Regions from separate parts of the Homo sapiens genome. Here region 2 is linked to region 1. The links are contacts of gene promoters, found by promoter capture Hi-C in human tissues and cell types (Jung and others, 2019). All regions are on one chromosome and are shown on one strand. The core of a region is centred on a gene start or on the middle of the fragment in contact, and the rest is flanking DNA. Distances in the headings are between cores, read along the strand shown. Region 1 holds the start of HCAR2 (hydroxycarboxylic acid receptor 2). Region 2 overlaps KNTC1 (kinetochore associated 1).

Region 1 (5,512 bases), core at 1,534-4,033:
CCTTTCCTTCTCTGAATTGGGAACTGAAACCATTCCATAGGAAGCTCGCTCTTCCCCCTCCTATGGAAAAATATCTGCCTGGCTTGATTCCCTTTTTATATTATTTATTATTATTATTTGAGATGAAGTCTTGCTCTGTCCCCCAGGCTGGAGTGCAGGCACACCACCTCGGCTCACTGCAACCTCCGCCTCCTGGGTTCAAGCAATTCTTCTTCCCCCAGCCTTCCCAGTAGCTGGGACTACAAGCGGCCGCCACCATGCCTGGCTAATTTTTCTTGTATTTTTAGTAGAAGTGGGGTTTCGCCATGTTGTCCAGGCTGGTCTCAAACTCCTGACCTCAGGGTGATCTGCCCACCTCGGTCCCCTCAAAGTGCTGGGATTACAGGCATGAACCATTGCACCTGGCCTTGATTCCCTGTTTAATGCACAAATACTAAGAGCAATATTCACCAAACTCTAATAAAATGTAAGTGCTCTTGCGATCCTATCTGTACTATCCTTCCAAATTATTTTTAATCCCAGCTCTTTCTATCTTTGTTTAGACACAGGTGTAATTTCTGCTTAGTTGTTTCATGATGTAGCTCAGTGTCTGTGTCTCTTTCTTACTTTGCAGTGTGGAGTAGTTTTCTACCAGGACAGAGTTAACAACCCATAAAGGTCTCTGCTTAAGTAAGAAGTCCATTTCTGTGAACCATAACCCAGATATAGCAACGCCAGACTGTCTCCTATCAAAATTTATTGAAATGGTAGATTTTTGGTAAGTACAGAAACACAAGCGAAGGAACCAGGAGGAACGTGCACCCCTCTAACTGTGGGGCAGAGGCACATTTCCCTTTTAATGTTAAAAGCAAACAGAGGTGGGAAACAGCTTTCTATCCTGAAGCCGTTTTAACTGCCCAACCCTTAGATTACTATAAACAAGAGAGGAATGGATTGCATTAGTCGCTGGTTGAAAGCAGCAATGCCATTTCCTTTCCCATAATAACACTGTTTAGCTCAGTCCCTTCTGGGGCTAATCCCCTATTACACCCACCGGAAACACAGATATTAACCAAAGCGTGTGAGTCTCTTCCCTGAGTCCATTTCTGCTAAAGCTTGTCTGAAAGATGAATTGGTCCACGGAAGCCAGGTGACCTACTGGCTTGTTTAATGATGCCTGGGCTCCCTCCAGGAGCAACACAATTCCCTCCAATCTCAGCTCTCCTTATCCCTGCTAGAGCTCACAAGCAGGCTAGATATCACCCCAGGAGCTGAGCCCCCTCCAGTCTGAGGCAGATGTGGGAAGAAGGCCAACAAGTCACAAGTAGATCTCTGGCTCCAACTCTGCTCAGCAGAAATGCCTACAATTTGCCCATCTTCAGTCCTGCGAGCGTCAGAGATGAAGCAAAAGTTTCAGATGCCTAGAAGCTTTACTCTCTATTCCTCCAGGATTCCTGCGGTCACACCTTGCAACCAGTCTCCCACTCATCTGCCACCGTTTCCCTAAATCGCATTCTCTGAATCTGGAAGTTCCAGGAAACCTTAGGCCGAGTCCAGTGACATTACTCGATGCAACAGCCCAACTGTTTCTCCAGAGATCCTGGTTCTTGGTGACAATGTCCCTTCTTGGCATGGTTATTTAAGGAGAGGTTGGGCCCAGATAAGAGGGGCTCCATGGCTCACCGGAGTTGGCCATTAACGCCTCTGGAGCGCCTCTGGTTTTGTTGGGGTCCCCTGTGAGCTCGACGCTCGTGCTGCGGTTATTATCTGGCTCACCTGTCATCTTCCTCTGGAGGCAGCGGTTGATCAAAGTGGAGAAGAAGTTGGGAAAGGATGGGCTGGAGAAGTAGTACACCACGGGGTCCAGCATGCTGTTCATGTAGGTGAAGCTGAGAGTGATAAAGAACGCCAGGTCCACCGAGCGGTACACTTCACAATTCTGCGTGCCCGAAGTGTGCAGGAGCCAGAAGATGCGGATCCGCACAACCACGCTGGGAAGGAAGCAGATGACAAAGACGATGGCCACCACCATGATGAAGGTGATGGCTCTCTTGATCTTGGCATGCCGGTCCATTTGTCTCTGCCGCAGGCTCCAGATAATTCTGGCTGAGCAGAACAGGATGATGCCCAGGGGCAGGAAGAACTCCAGGAGGAACATGGCTTCGTGCCACTGGAAGGTATGGCAGATGCTGAAGCTGCTGCACAAATTTGCACCGCCATTCTGGATCGGCATCTTCTTCTTCAGGAGGTGGACTGTCAGGCCAATAGTGATGCCCCACAGAAGGCAAGAGATGATGGCTGCTGTCCGATTGGAGATCTTGTTCAGGGCGTGGTGGGGATGGACCACCCGGAAATACCTGTCTACCGCCACCACCGTGAGGAAGATGATGCTGCCCTGGCGGTTCATAGCCAACATGAAGAGCATCAGCCGGCAAGGGATGTCCCCAAACTTCCAGTCCCAACGCCTCACATAGTTGTCCATCAGGAAGGGCAGGCAGATGATCAGTAGAAAGTCAGCCACTGCCAGGTTGAACAGGAAAATCCGGCTGGATTTCCAGGACTTGAGGTGGAAACAGAAAATCCACAGGGCAAGGCCATTGCCCAGAAGCCCGAAGATAAACTCCAGCCCCAACACCGGCGGCAACACCTTGACAATGAAGTCATCTCGGAACACACAGCAGTTCTTCTTGTCTATTTCCAGAAAGTGATCCTGCAGATGGTGCCGATTCATGAGTGCGGCTAGTGAGTCCGATGGAGCGCCTCGCCTAGTGAATGCTCCAGCAAGGAGGTGTGTGTCTGTGTGGTGAACGTGTGGTTCCACGCCTGCCTTTATGTCATGTCAGGGTGTTGAAATAGATGACTGAATGGTTACCAGGAAACTACGAAATCTCTAAAAAAAAAAAAAAAAAAAAAAGCCAGCAAGGCTCTTATGCAACCTGCTGTTTGCATAAACAAGTAATAAGAATCCCCTGGGCAGACGGGAACCCACAAAATGTCTTAAATGTAAAGGATAAGTTTAGGCAAGCCGACTGTCATTCGAAAATCAGTGAAACATGAAGGACATCCCTTTGGAAGGCTGGGTGCTTGTATGCCAACTGAGTACTCAACGTTGCAGAATTAATTCACCGTCATCTGCTTGGCTGACATAATTAACAAAACAACAACAATAGCAATAACAATTTTTGGTGCCAAACAGTGAGGTTTTCCAGAAACACTAAGAATTAGCATGAAAAATTAACAGGCATATGACATAAACAGTAGCAGACATATGATTTCTTTTGGAAATGCTGAGAAGACAGTAGTTGCCTGTTTGATGAGGACAGACTGGTTGAATTTGACCACTTTTCCTATGCTACCTTTCTGTACAAACATGGAGTGCTTTTCCATATCAGAACTCTGCCATTCATCTCCAGTTAGGAAAAAAAAAATAGCCTGCTGGAGAGTGTAATATTTCATAAGACATTTGAAAACTTGAGCCCAGTTTCAGTGGCATGTTAACATAAGTTGGGTTTTTTGTTTGTTTATATTAGATTTTGATATGCTTCTGTGCTCAAGTGATTTATTTTTAAGTATGTGATTTCTTTTTTTTGCAAACTTTGAATTAATGAGAAAAAGGATTCATGAGGCTAGTCGTAAGCTGTAGCAAATCGGGTGTACTTTGTGCTACAAATTTGTTTTTCTGTGTCGCTCTGCATGAAGAGGGGTACCTTAGGATAGAGCATGGGGTTAGTACCCCATAAGCTGTCTGTTCTAGACAGCCCAGGAAACTGGTCAGTAAGAAAGTTGGTTGCAGGTCCCTGAAACAAACAAAAAACTGGATGAGGTCTCTAACTTGTTTTATGTCCTTGGGACCTTAGGATGTGATTTTTTTTTTTTGAGACAGAGTCTCACTCTGTCACCCAGGCTGGAGAACGGTGGAACAATCTCAGCTCACTGCAACCTCCGCCTCCCAGGTTCAAGCAATTCTTCTGCCTCAGCCTCCTGAGTATCTGGGACTACAGGCGTGCGCCACCACGCCCAGCTAATTTTTTGTATTTTTAGTAAAGACGAGGTTTCACTGTGTTGGCCAGGCTGGTCTCAAACTCCTGACCTTGTGATCCGTCTGCCTCGGCCTCCCAAAGTGCTGGGATTACAGGCGTGAGCCACCGCGCCTGGCCGTGATTTTTTTTAATGAACTTTATTTTTTGGGGCAGTGTTAGATTCACAGCAAAATGGAGCAGAAAGTACGGACGGTCCTGTGCACTCTGTCTCCACACACGCAAAACCTCCCCCACTAAGTATGTGATATTTTCAAAGCCCCCATTTTTGTAAAATTAAACTTAGAGTGACAGGACCTAAGAGGACATGGAACCCCGCCTTGTAGCGGGACACCATTGCACACATTGTTTCTCTGCTTGTCAGTGCGATTGGGTGTCATCCTATAGAATGTTTTCTCCCTTTAATATTTTGGTCTTATGAATTCTTCCATGCAGGAGGTTTCTAAATTGTGTTCCTTCTACTTTGAGTTATAAAATGTAAATTTCTTCCTTTTTTTTTTTTTTTCTGTTTTTTCTTTTGAGATGGAGTTTCGCTCTGTCGCCCAGGCTGGAGTGCAGTGGCATGATCTTGGCTCACTGCAACCTCTGCCTCCCGGGTTCATGCCATTCTCCTGCCTCAGCCTCCCAAGTAGCTGAGACTACAGGTGCAAGCCACCATGCCTGGCTAATTTTTGTATTTTTAGTAGAGATGGATTTCACCATTTTGGCCAGGCTGGTCTTGAACTCCTGACTTCAAGTGATCCTCCCGCCTTGGCATCCCAAAATGCTGGGATTGCAGGTGTGAACCATCGCTGCCACCATAAGATGTCAATTTATTTCTTTAGCTGCAAACGCAGGTTCAATAATAGGAGCTTATAGACTCTTCACAGTAAACTAGAGTCAGGATGACCTAATATTAGATTCCCATAGAACTACAAGTACTTGATGATGATCCAGGTGAGATGAAGACGATGATGAAGAAGATGATGGTGGCACCTACATTATAGAGAGCTTCCCATGTGCTGGAACCCATACTCAGTGCTTTTTTTTTTTTGAGACAAAGTCTCGCTCTTGCCTCACTGCAAGCTCCGCCTCCCGGGTTCACGCCATGCTGCCTCAGCCTCCCGAGTAGCTGGGACTACAGGCACCCACCACCATGCCCAGCTAATTTTTTATATTTTTAGTAGAGACGGGATTTCACCGTGTTAGCCAGGAGCTCAGTGCTTTTATAGTTGCTTGTTTCACCCTGACTGTAGCCCATGTGGAAGGTATTATTACTGATTCTGATTTCAAAATGAGGAAAGTGAAGCTCAGAGAGGATAAAATATTCAGGGCCACCCAGCTCATAAGAGCAGAGCATGGCCGGGCATGGTGGCTCACGCCTGTAATCCCAACACTTTGGGAGGCCGAGACGGGAGGATCACAAGGTCAGGAGATCCAGACCATCTTGGCCAATATGGTGAAACCCCGTCTCTACTAAAATTTACAAAAATTAGCTGGGTGTGGTGGCGGGCGCC
Region 2 (5,512 bases), core at 1,524-4,023, 160 kb before region 1:
GAGCATTGCTTCAGTCTAGGAGCTCGAAACCAGCCTGGATAATATAGAGAGACCGCCACCTCTACAAAAAATAAAAAATTAGCCACATGTGTTGGTGTGTGTCTGTAGTCCCACTTTCTCAGGAGGCTGAGTTGGGAGGATCTCTTGGGCCTGCAGTGAGCTGCGATCGCTGCACTGCAGTGTCTGGCCTGCGAGTGCAGGCCATTGCACTCCAGCCTGGGAGATAGATTGAGACCCTGTCTCAAAAACAAAAAACAAAAAAAAAACCTTCAAATTGACATATTTTTAAGGTAGTTCCAGATACTGTTTGTTTGTGCTTGCCTGCCTGCCTGCCTGCCTGCCTGCCTTCCTTCCTTCCTTCCTTCCTTCCTTCCTTCCTTCCGTCCTTCCTCTGTCTCTCCCTCTCTTTTTTTTTTTTTCTGAGATGGAGTCTCACTCTGTCACCCAGGCTGGAGAGCAATGACGCAATTTCAGCTCACTGCAACCTCCACTACCCGGGTTCAAGCAATTCTCCTGCCTCAGCCTCCTGAGTAGCTGGGACTACAGGCACGCACCACCACAACCAGCTAATTTTTATATTTTTAGTAGAGACGGGGTTTCACCATGTTGGTCAGGCTGGTCTCGAGCTCCTGACCTCGTGATCTACCTGCCTTGGCCTCCCAAAGTGTTGGCATTACAGGCGTGAGCCACTGCGCCCCGCCTCTTTCTGTCTTTCTCTCTTTCTTCAAAAGCCACGTTCAAACAGACACTGGTTTAAATTTTATATCCATGTGCCTTTTAAAGTAACTGATTCCCAGCCGTGAGCAGTGGCTCAGGCCTGTAATCCCAGCACTTTGGGAGGCTGAGGCAAGCAGATCATGAGGTCAAGAGATCAAGACCATCCTGGCCAACATGGTGAAACCCTGTCTCTACTAAAAATACAAAAATTAGCTGGGCATGGTGGTGCACGCCTGTAGTCCCAGCTACTTGGGAGGCTGAGGCAGGAGAATTGCACCCTAGAGGCGGAGGTTGCAGGGAGCCGAGATCGCGCTGCTGCACTCCAGCCTAGCGACAGAATGAGACTCCATCTCAAAAAAAAGAAACTGATTCTGATTTTATTTCAATAGGTACCTATTATATGCTACTTCTTACATACAGTGGATTTTTTTGTATTACAAACCTTCAGCTTTTAAAAATTCAACAAGGTAAGTAATACATTATATTTTTATTATTGATTTGCAGCAATATTTACTAGTTTTATTAATGTAATAGTAAAATTTTAAGTACTCTCTTTAAGCTTATTTTATCTTACTTGTATTTAGTTATAATTGGGTATACTGTTAAGTATTCAGAATACAGTTATTCTCCTCTGTTAGAGCTGGAACAGTATCTGAATAAATGTAATTTTGATATGGCCTTCAAGGAGCTTAGTTTGGGGAGATAAGCTTCAACAGTTTAGTTGGGGAGACAAGACATATGCTAGCACAATAGTAAATACTTTTTAATGTGGTGGATGAACCTGGAAATGGAAATGACTATGTAGTGTTAATAGTGCAGAACAGGGCTGGCGTGGTGGCTCATGCCTGTAATCCTGGCACTTTGGGAGGCCAAGGCGGGCAGATCACCTGAGGTTGGGAGTGCAAGACCAGCCTGACCAACATGAAGAAACCCTGTCTCTACTAAAAATACAAAATTAGCCAGACAGGGTGGCAGGCGCCTGTAATCCCAGCTAGTCGGGAAGCTGAGGCAGGAGAATAATTTGAACCCAGGAGGCAGAGGTGCGGTGAGCTGAGATCACGCTGTTGCACTCCAGCCTGGGCAGCAAGAGCGAAACTCTGTCTCAAAAAAAAAAATATATAGTGCAGAACAATAATGTAAAATATGTTTTAAGCTAGTAGTCTGGACCATTTATCCCTCTAAGCCAAGTGAAATTATTTGAGGAATGGATTTGGAACAGGTATTTAACATTTTGTTTTATTTTATTATTTTTATTTATTTATTTATTTTTGAGATGGAGTCTTGCTCTGTCGCCCAGGCTGGAGTACAGTGGTATGATATCGGCTCACTGCAACCTCCGCTTCCCAGGTTCAAGTGATTCTTGTGCCTCAGTCTCCCAAGTAACTGGGATTACAGGTGCGCACCACCACACCTGGCTAATTTTTGTATTTTTACTAGAGGCGGGGTTTCACCATGTTGGCCAGGCTGGTCTCGAACTCCTCACGTCAAGTGATTTGCCCGTCTTGGCCTCCCAAAGTGCTGGGATTGTAGGCATGAGCCACTGCGCCCGGCCTAAGTGATATTTTTAAAATACTGACTTGCCAGGCCTGTGCTACGTCTTGGGTATATGACAAGATTGAAGATTTGTTTTCCATAGCTTCATGATGGAGCTAGAAACGTAAGAGCTATTCCAAACAGTGAGAAGCACAGGAGAGTTGGAGTAGGGAGAAGATCCCCTTAGTAGGAAGAGAGGTGGTAAGGGTAGGTATGGAGAGGTACTGGCTGGTGCCCTGAATCTAACATGTCACAGTTAGCGTATTTTGGTCAGGGGCAAAACTTAATTCTCACCAGTGTTCTTTGAACTAGATTGTATTTAATTTCACCTTGACACAAAACAGGTGACTTGTATTATTTTGTAGATTAATACTATACATTTAGCCTGCTTTCTTTTTTAATGCAGCAATTGAGAATGTAGACTTCAGTACAGCAAAAAAGGTAAGAAAATAAATCCATATTGTCCTCTTAAAAAAATTACATTTAATATTAATGTAGTAGAATGTTTCTGTATATAATTGGTCTACTTCTTGATATTTTAGAAATTATTATGATATAACATTTTAATAACATTTCTATTTAAAAATACATTTATGCCCGTAATCCCAGCACTTTGGGAGGCCAAGGGGGCGGATCACCTGAGGTCCGGAGTTCGAGACCAGCCTGACCAACTGGAGAAACCCCATCTCTACTAAAAAATACAAAATTAGCCGGGGGGTGGTGGCGCATGCCTGTACTCCCAGCTACTCAGGAGGCTGAGGCAGGGAATTACTTGAACTCGGGAGGCAGAGGTTGTGGTGAGCCGAGATTGCGCCATTGCACTCTAGCCTGGGCAACAAGAGCAAAACTCTGTCTCCAAAAAAAAAAAAAAAAATTTATAACTGATTGATATCAACTGATTTTAGTGATTTTATGGAGCATAAATATGTATTATATATATGACGTTGTTGTTTTTAATTTTGCAGTTACAAGGACAAATCAAGTCCAGTTTTATTTCTACTGAAAATTATCATACTCTTGGTTGTCTCAGTCTTGTGGCTGGAGATTTAGCAAGTGAAGTTCCTGTGATAATTGGGGTAATTGTTTTTATAAAGTTTTGTTTTTTGTTGCCTAAAGCATTTTCTCAGAAAAATGTTTTTGTTTTGGTTAAATTGCAAAATAATTTGTAACATATAACCGAAACAAGGAAATTATAAAATTAAGGTAATTAAAAATAACTCAATAAATAAATTTCTGTCTTGGAAAAAATATTGCATCTTTACTTTCCCTAGTCTTTACCTGAAAGTACAGCATTTTTTTCAATTATGAGAGCAGACAAAAACGATAGAAAACAAAACCAAAAAATTCCATTGTTACAGTACCTGTGACTTTGTCACTAATGGAAAAACAGCACATTATTGCAGCTGTCTTGAAATAAATATTTACACACCACTACTTCAAAATTATGGTCATCATAGTTTTTCTAATAGGAAGTGTAATTACTACTGGTGACATACTCACAGGGACTGCTGATTCTACTGCTTTTTGTTTTTTGGGGTTTTTGTGGCCTACATTCATAAGTGAAAGAAATTCTGTTTCAGATGGAGATTAGTGAAAATAAAGATGTAAATTTTTTGCCCATCCAGCTTCACAAATCCGTTGAATCTTGAAATAATTCAGGTTAAGAACCTTAGTGTTAGAGAATGGTCCTAAAGAGTAAAGTGTCTTTGATGTAATGCCTGCCTCCTAAGTGATTCTACGTTATTCTTAGTCTTGGCTAGCTAGGCTACTTGCAAGTTTTGTTATTAGTGAAATGGGAACGTGGACAAGGATGCACGTAGAAAAGCACAATTCATTCACAACCATTGGCATGTATACATTGCTGTATAATGTCTTATATCTCATGTTACATGTAAAAAGTAACATTTCATTATTGGTATGTCACTTCCAGTAACCCTGATCATAATTTCTTTAAATTTTGGGGGAAAATACCTAATGTTATATTCAAAGAATAGGCAGAAACTCAGTATAATTACGTTTACAACATTTTTACTTGCCAAATTTATATATTAAGAAGTAGTCAGCTGCGTGTCATGGCATGCTCCTATGGTCCCAGCTACTTGGGAAGCTGAGGCAGAAGAATTGCGTGAGCCCAGGAGTATCAGGCTGCAGTAGCTCTGATCACACCTGTGATCACCCCACTTCACTGCGGCCTGGCAACACAGTGAGATCCTGTCTCTAAAAAGAGAAGAAACAAAAAAGAGAGAAAAGAAGCAGTCATATTTCCACATTGAGCATATCTAATTTAACATTTCACCAGGGTTTCAAAGAATTTAAAATTAATATTTATAAATTTTTTTTCCAAATATCTGTGGTATTTTAATGAAAATACTTATCAAAGACTATATTTTAATCATAATCCTGGAAGAGGTCTTAAAAGTTCACTGCATGTCTTTAGTGCTAGTTGCCTAAATACGCTCATTAAATATTTATGTGAAGGCTGGCATGGTGGCTCATGCCTGTAATCCCAACACTTTGAGAGGCTGAGGTGGGAGGATTGCTTGCACCCAGGAGGTTGAGACCAGTCTCAGCAACATAGGGAGACCCTGTCTCTACAACAAATAGTAAATTAGCCGGGTGTGGTGATGCTCACCTGTAGTCCCAGCTACTGGGGAGGCTGAGGTGGGAGGATCGCTTGAGCCCAGGAGATTGAGGCTGCAGTGAGCTGTGATCACTGCCCTCCAGCCTGGGCAATGGAGTGAGACCCTGTCTCAAATTAAAAAAAAAAAAAAAATTGTAATAACCATGAATTCCAATAGTACACTGTTTTTTTCATTCTCTTCAGAAACCAAGAGAGGAACTGGAAGATGAAACCTAGTTAAGTTAGAATATGTAAATATATTTTAAAATTAGTAACCTATAAAACTTACATGTTTCTACTTTGAGGAAGGCTCAGGTCTAAGAATGAAATTTGCATTTTAAGTACTGTGTTCATTTTTCCAGGGAACCGGTAATTGTGCATTCTCAAAATGGGAACCAGATTCTTCCAAGAAAGGAATGACAGTTAAGAACCTTATTGATGCAGAGATTATTAAAGGTAAAATAAGTTAATGAAACTACTTTAGACAATTATTAGTGAGTTTTAATTTTTATGTCAGTGTACTTAGACTGACATATGGGTCATTTTACCCTACCACTCTTTGAAACAAGCCAGAATAGCTTGATGGTTGTTCACATACAGAACAGTTCTTGACATGTTACAGTTGTTACTCTTCATTTTGGG

What was found. Contacts are between HindIII fragments. The study calls those that stand out against the background at their distance.
Region 2: a contact is called between a fragment that was not itself captured here and the fragment with the promoter of HCAR2 in region 1, in 2 of the 25 tissues and cell types used here (mesenchymal stem cells and thymus).

What each region holds. Positions count from the first base shown.
Region 1 is chr12:122,700,574-122,706,085 of GRCh38, forward strand. HCAR2 (hydroxycarboxylic acid receptor 2) reads right to left here and starts at 2,784. Exons shown (of 1, transcript NM_177551.4): 1 at 720-2,784. The coding sequence starts at 2,710. The coding sequence ends at 1,619. The HindIII fragment of the contact is 9,565 bases long and covers 1,251-5,512 here.
Region 2 is chr12:122,540,944-122,546,455 of GRCh38, forward strand. It overlaps KNTC1 (kinetochore associated 1), which reads left to right. Exons shown (of 64, transcript NM_014708.6): 6 at 1,107-1,184; 7 at 2,657-2,691; 8 at 3,216-3,326; 9 at 5,233-5,326. Among named protein-coding and RNA genes, the nearest start is that of KNTC1, 16 kb to the left of the region's middle. The HindIII fragment of the contact is 5,850 bases long and covers 1-5,512 here.